2 separate regions of the Homo sapiens genome follow, and region 1 is linked to region 2. The links are contacts of gene promoters, found by promoter capture Hi-C in human tissues and cell types (Jung and others, 2019). All regions are on one chromosome and are shown on one strand. Each heading gives the region's core, a stretch centred on a gene start or on the middle of the fragment in contact. The rest is flanking DNA. Distances are from core to core; before and after follow the strand shown.

The links. The method cuts DNA at HindIII sites, captures the fragments that hold promoters and counts their contacts. A contact is called where the count stands out against the background at its distance.
Region 1: a contact is called between a fragment that was not itself captured here and the fragment with the promoter of BCR in region 2, in 1 of the 25 tissues and cell types used here (dorsolateral prefrontal cortex).

The regions. Positions count from the first base shown.
Region 1 is chr22:23,397,352-23,400,290 of GRCh38, forward strand. It overlaps the pseudogene ZDHHC8BP. Among named protein-coding and RNA genes, the nearest start is that of LINC01659, 35 kb to the right of the region's middle. RefSeq lists enhancers at 1,549-2,103, 2,193-2,939. The HindIII fragment of the contact is 6,507 bases long and covers 1-2,939 here.
Region 2 is chr22:23,179,239-23,182,019 of GRCh38, forward strand. It overlaps BCR (BCR activator of RhoGEF and GTPase), which reads left to right and starts at 1,271. Exons shown (of 23, transcript NM_004327.4): 1 at 1,271-2,781. The coding sequence starts at 1,723. It also overlaps a transcript of RSPH14 not described here and the pseudogene BCRP8. RefSeq lists an enhancer at 191-1,001 and silencers at 1,122-1,361, 1,432-1,701, 1,722-1,801. The HindIII fragment of the contact is 16,176 bases long and covers 1-2,781 here.

The DNA.
Region 1 (2,939 bases), core at 440-2,939, 220 kb after region 2:
CCACTACCCAGAGCAGATCAGAGCAGAAGCATCATTGGCCTTGCCAAGCTACGAGCTTCCAGCGGGGTCCATGAAAGGCAACGTGTTAGGAGTAGCCTGGCTGGGGACACTCGGTCTGGGAACCCACAGGCTGTGTCGGAAGGACGGCGGGGGCCCTGGGTGCCTCTGTCGATCTCTGGGACCCATCCGTAAGGGGACCGTTGGGGGCTGGCCTGGCAATGACCTGGGGTGCATGGGTGATGGGAGTGAGCCAAGCCTGGCTGAGAGAGCGTGCCCCAAAGAGACTGACTGGGCCCCCTCACTGCCCCAGCCATGGGATGGGCCCAGACACAGACCAGCCCAGTGGCCCTTGGCCCAGTGAGCCAACTTCCCCATGGGCAGATGAGTGGACGGGCAGATGAGTGGACAGGCAGGCAGAGCGCTTGCGGCAAGCTGTGGAGGCGTGGCACTCTCTCCCGCCGATGGGTCCACACCAGGCTGGGGTGGCCTTGGGTCCCTGGGGCAGAGAAGTTGATGGGGAACGGGGGTGTGCTGCGGGGTCCTGGTCCCCGTGGCACCACGGCGGATGGGTGGTGGTCAGTCCTCACACCAGGATCTCGTACATGGTCCCACCCACGCCAGACACCTTCTTAACCAGCGTGTGCCACATAGATCTGGCAGAGGGCCCTGGGGGGCCTGTGGCAGGTCCCAGCCGGGCCAGGCCCAGAGACTGCCCATTAAGCTTACCTGGGGGAGTCTTCAGCTGAGGGTGGTCCCTGCATCAAAACAAGCACATACACGCATGCACACGGTGAACACACGAACACGGGGACAGAGGACGGAGGAGGCAACAGGACAGAGACGACACAGACGTGGACTGGTGTAGCCATGTCGTGGGGCCCTGGGCAGTCCCTGCCCTCTAGGCTCGGAGGGTTCACCCAGAAAGTAGGAGGGAGATGCAGAGCCTGCCTGGGGAGCGGCTGTGCCATCACAGGACAGATGTTGTCAGAACTGCCACCACCCTCCCAAGTCCCTGGGTCCCTAGGCAGCACTGGCCACAGAGAGCATGGGGCAGTCAGGTGGGCACTGAATGGAGCCCCTGCCCTGCTCTGCACTGGGAGCCCGGCCACTCTGCCTGGCCTCATTCCTGCTCTCTCTCAGGAAAACGAGGGGCTGCCCTCCTGCCCACCAGCGCTGACCAACAGCAGCTCTATCCTTGCTGCTTAAACCTTCTCAAGGTGAGAGCCCTTTGTCCCCGGGCTGCGATCCCTGCCTGGCTGCAATGCTGCCCACTTCTAGGTCTCGGGCTCCCCACTCATCACTCCCAGTGGCAGCCTCCTCCCCAACTCCACAAAAGCTGAACAGACTCCTACCCTGTGGGGTAGGGGAGGCCTCCTCAGGGCTGGACTGCTGTGCCCTCAGCCCCTTTGTGGCCAAGTGGCCTGGGCTGGGCTGGGCGGGGCTGGGCTCTCCCCCTGGGGCCGCATCTGACGACAGGAAACAGCTGAGCCTGTGCTTGAGGTTTCCAGGCCCAGACGGGGTGACAGACGACAGATGCCGTGAGGACACCATGCGTCCGTGGCGTGGGTCCTGGCCCCAGCAGGTGTGCAGCTCTCCTACCTGGGCCTGGGCCTACAAGCCAGCTGACCCCGCTCTCTCAGTTACCAACCTGCTGGGTGCCTGGAGCCAGCCTGCTTTCTCCAGTCCTCAGTTTCCCCACTACGAGCAGGGAAGCCCCTGCTTCCCAGAACTATGTCCCACAGGGAGGGCCAGGGCCCGGCCACCCAGGGAGGCACATTCTGCTGCGAGGTAATGTCCTCAGCCCCAGCCTCCTAGAGATGCAGCAAAGCAGGCCCAGGGAGAGCACCGGGTAGACAGGGCCACTGTGACCCAGGATGCCAGAGCCACAGCCTAAAGGAGGCCCAGGCTGCCACATGATACTGACCCCAAAGAGAAAGCCCCATGGCCTCCTACGTGCTGGGTCTGTGCCAGCTCTGGAAGAACAAGTCATTGGGATCAGGACACAAATTCTCATACCCTGTCCCCAGAGCATGCCCAGGACATCCTCAGAGCTGGGCCACACGGGCTAGCCAAAGCCTTCAATGCAGGGTGAGGCGCATCCTCCCTGTCCCGTCCCCAGAGAAAAACTCAGGCCCCTGGGATGACCTATGAGTGCCCAGCCAAGAGGGGCCCTGCAGACGGCTGGACAGCTGCCCTGTGCCAGGAAGCCCACCCGCACCTCCCAGCACCCACCTCTGCACGGTCAGCGAGGGCGGTGGCTCTAGGAGGTCCATTTGGATGAAGGTGACACCTTTGGGGCCTGTGTAGGATGGTGAGTGGGGAGTGCCGGGCGGGGAGGGCAGGCCCTGGCGTGCGGGCGACCTGTGTGAGCCACTACTGGGCCGGGGCCCCGGGGCGTTGCTGCTGACCTGATCAGCCTGCAGGGAGGAGGACGACGTCCGCAGTGCACGGCTCACGGAGCTGGAAAGCGAGGACAATGATGTCTGCAGGACAGGGTTGCAGGCGCCGCCGAAGCCGGGCCTGGCCACAAGGTCATCTGTAGAGCTGTAGCACAGCGTAGGACCTCGGAAGCCCTCAGACAGCACACTGGCCTGCTGCAGGCTGTAGGAGCTGGGAGCATCATAGACGCCTGAGTCGCCGAAGAGTGAGTCGGCCTGGGAGCGCAGCAGGCACTCACGCTCCTCCCTGTCCTTGCGCTCCTGGATGGATGCCATGATGGTCCTGGACAGGATGTCGTAGAGCACAGGCGAGGGCTCCTGGGGCCGGGGGCCCAGCACGGGACTGAAGCTGTGGGGCAGGGGCCATGGTGGGTCGCCCGTTGCCCCAGGGTGCAGGTAGGGTGAGTGGTATCCGGCCACGCCAACTGCTGGATGGGCGAGGCAGGCGTGGCCACCAGGCGAGCCAGGGTTGAGCACATTATTGTAGGACAGGCTGCGATT
Region 2 (2,781 bases), core at 21-2,520:
AGATGTGCTTCTCACTTCAAGGAAACTGAGGCAGAGAGGGAGAGGTGGTCAGGACTCAAGCCCAGTAATTCATTTGCCAAATCCTGTTTCCTTTTCCCCCAACCCAGCGGGCTGGTTTGGGTATTTTCAGTTTGTGCCCATCAGAGTCCCTGCAGAGTGCTCTCCACTGTGTCTCAGATCTCTGTGTCCCCAGAGAACCATCAAAGGTTTTGTTTCACTCCCTGCTCTGGGCTGTCTTCCACCCAGCCCTGTGAACCTCAGTGCAGGTTGGCCGCCCCCTTAGAGGGAGGCTAATCAGGGAAGTTCTGAGTCAGGTCGTCCTGGAAAAACTACATTGACCTCTGGAGCTCAAGAGAGGCCAGGGGACAAACACATGGCTCAGCACACAGGAAGGCAGGTGTGGGTATTGAGTGACCTGAGGGAGAAATCCCTATTTATCATCCATCATGTGGTCCTGCTGTGACAAACCCGTGTGGCAGCCACCCACAGCAGATCCACAACGTGAGAGGCCCGCTGAAACAAGGGTGCTGGCATTGGTTACTCAGCCTGGCCCTCCCTGCCTTGCGGGGTGACCTGCCTGGTCCTGGCCTCTCTGTGAGTTGGGCCCTGCTGGGTGGTCCCTAGTGTGCCCAGCCCTGAGGCTGGTGAGAGGCCAGGCTGTGAGGTGTGAGGAACTTACCTGCGTCTCCATGGAAGGTGCCCTCCGCATCGTTGGGCCAGATCTGCCTGGTCTTGCAGATGCCCACGATGGTGGCCTCTGACACGACGACTGGGCAGTGCCGGTGACGCTTATGGCACTGCGGCGTGGTAGGGGCAGAGGGGGGAGGTTGCTTCTGTCGGAGGACTGCTGCGAGTTCTGCCAGAGAGAGCAGCTCTTGTCCCGGAACATGAGGTAGGTGGTGGGGCTTGGGGACACGCGGCTGGACTGGCCGGAGAAGTCCTCCTGGCCGGAGGGGAGCCAAGTGTTCCTGTTCCAGGACTGCAGAACTGGCCCAGACCTCTGTATTGGAAAGGTCTTTATGGACCAGGGAGTCCGGTGTCTTTTTTACGGGGGACCCCTGGGCTGCGAGTTGCACAGTCCAATTCGCTGTTGTTAGGGCCTCAGTTTCCCAAAAGGCACAGGGACGGGGGGAGGGTGGCGGCTCGATGGGGGAGCCGCCTCCAGGGGGCCCCCCCGCCCTGTGCCCACGGCGCGGCCCCTTTAAGAGGCCCGCCTGGCTCCGTCATCCGCGCCGCGGCCACCTCCCCCCGGCCCTCCCCTTCCTGCGGCGCAGAGTGCGGGCCGGGCGGGAGTGCGGCGAGAGCCGGCTGGCTGAGCTTAGCGTCCGAGGAGGCGGCGGCGGCGGCGGCGGCACGGCGGCGGCGGGGCTGTGGGGCGGTGCGGAAGCGAGAGGCGAGGAGCGCGCGGGCCGTGGCCAGAGTCTGGCGGCGGCCTGGCGGAGCGGAGAGCAGCGCCCGCGCCTCGCCGTGCGGAGGAGCCCCGCACACAATAGCGGCGCGCGCAGCCCGCGCCCTTCCCCCCGGCGCGCCCCGCCCCGCGCGCCGAGCGCCCCGCTCCGCCTCACCTGCCACCAGGGAGTGGGCGGGCATTGTTCGCCGCCGCCGCCGCCGCGCGGGCCATGGGGGCCGCCCGGCGCCCGGGGCCGGGCTGGCGAGGCGCCGCGCCGCCGCTGAGACGGGCCCCGCGCGCAGCCCGGCGGCGCAGGTAAGGCCGGCCGCGCCATGGTGGACCCGGTGGGCTTCGCGGAGGCGTGGAAGGCGCAGTTCCCGGACTCAGAGCCCCCGCGCATGGAGCTGCGCTCAGTGGGCGACATCGAGCAGGAGCTGGAGCGCTGCAAGGCCTCCATTCGGCGCCTGGAGCAGGAGGTGAACCAGGAGCGCTTCCGCATGATCTACCTGCAGACGTTGCTGGCCAAGGAAAAGAAGAGCTATGACCGGCAGCGATGGGGCTTCCGGCGCGCGGCGCAGGCCCCCGACGGCGCCTCCGAGCCCCGAGCGTCCGCGTCGCGCCCGCAGCCAGCGCCCGCCGACGGAGCCGACCCGCCGCCCGCCGAGGAGCCCGAGGCCCGGCCCGACGGCGAGGGTTCTCCGGGTAAGGCCAGGCCCGGGACCGCCCGCAGGCCCGGGGCAGCCGCGTCGGGGGAACGGGACGACCGGGGACCCCCCGCCAGCGTGGCGGCGCTCAGGTCCAACTTCGAGCGGATCCGCAAGGGCCATGGCCAGCCCGGGGCGGACGCCGAGAAGCCCTTCTACGTGAACGTCGAGTTTCACCACGAGCGCGGCCTGGTGAAGGTCAACGACAAAGAGGTGTCGGACCGCATCAGCTCCCTGGGCAGCCAGGCCATGCAGATGGAGCGCAAAAAGTCCCAGCACGGCGCGGGCTCGAGCGTGGGGGATGCATCCAGGCCCCCTTACCGGGGACGCTCCTCGGAGAGCAGCTGCGGCGTCGACGGCGACTACGAGGACGCCGAGTTGAACCCCCGCTTCCTGAAGGACAACCTGATCGACGCCAATGGCGGTAGCAGGCCCCCTTGGCCGCCCCTGGAGTACCAGCCCTACCAGAGCATCTACGTCGGGGGCATGATGGAAGGGGAGGGCAAGGGCCCGCTCCTGCGCAGCCAGAGCACCTCTGAGCAGGAGAAGCGCCTTACCTGGCCCCGCAGGTCCTACTCCCCCCGGAGTTTTGAGGATTGCGGAGGCGGCTATACCCCGGACTGCAGCTCCAATGAGAACCTCACCTCCAGCGAGGAGGACTTCTCCTCTGGCCAGTCCAGCCGCGTG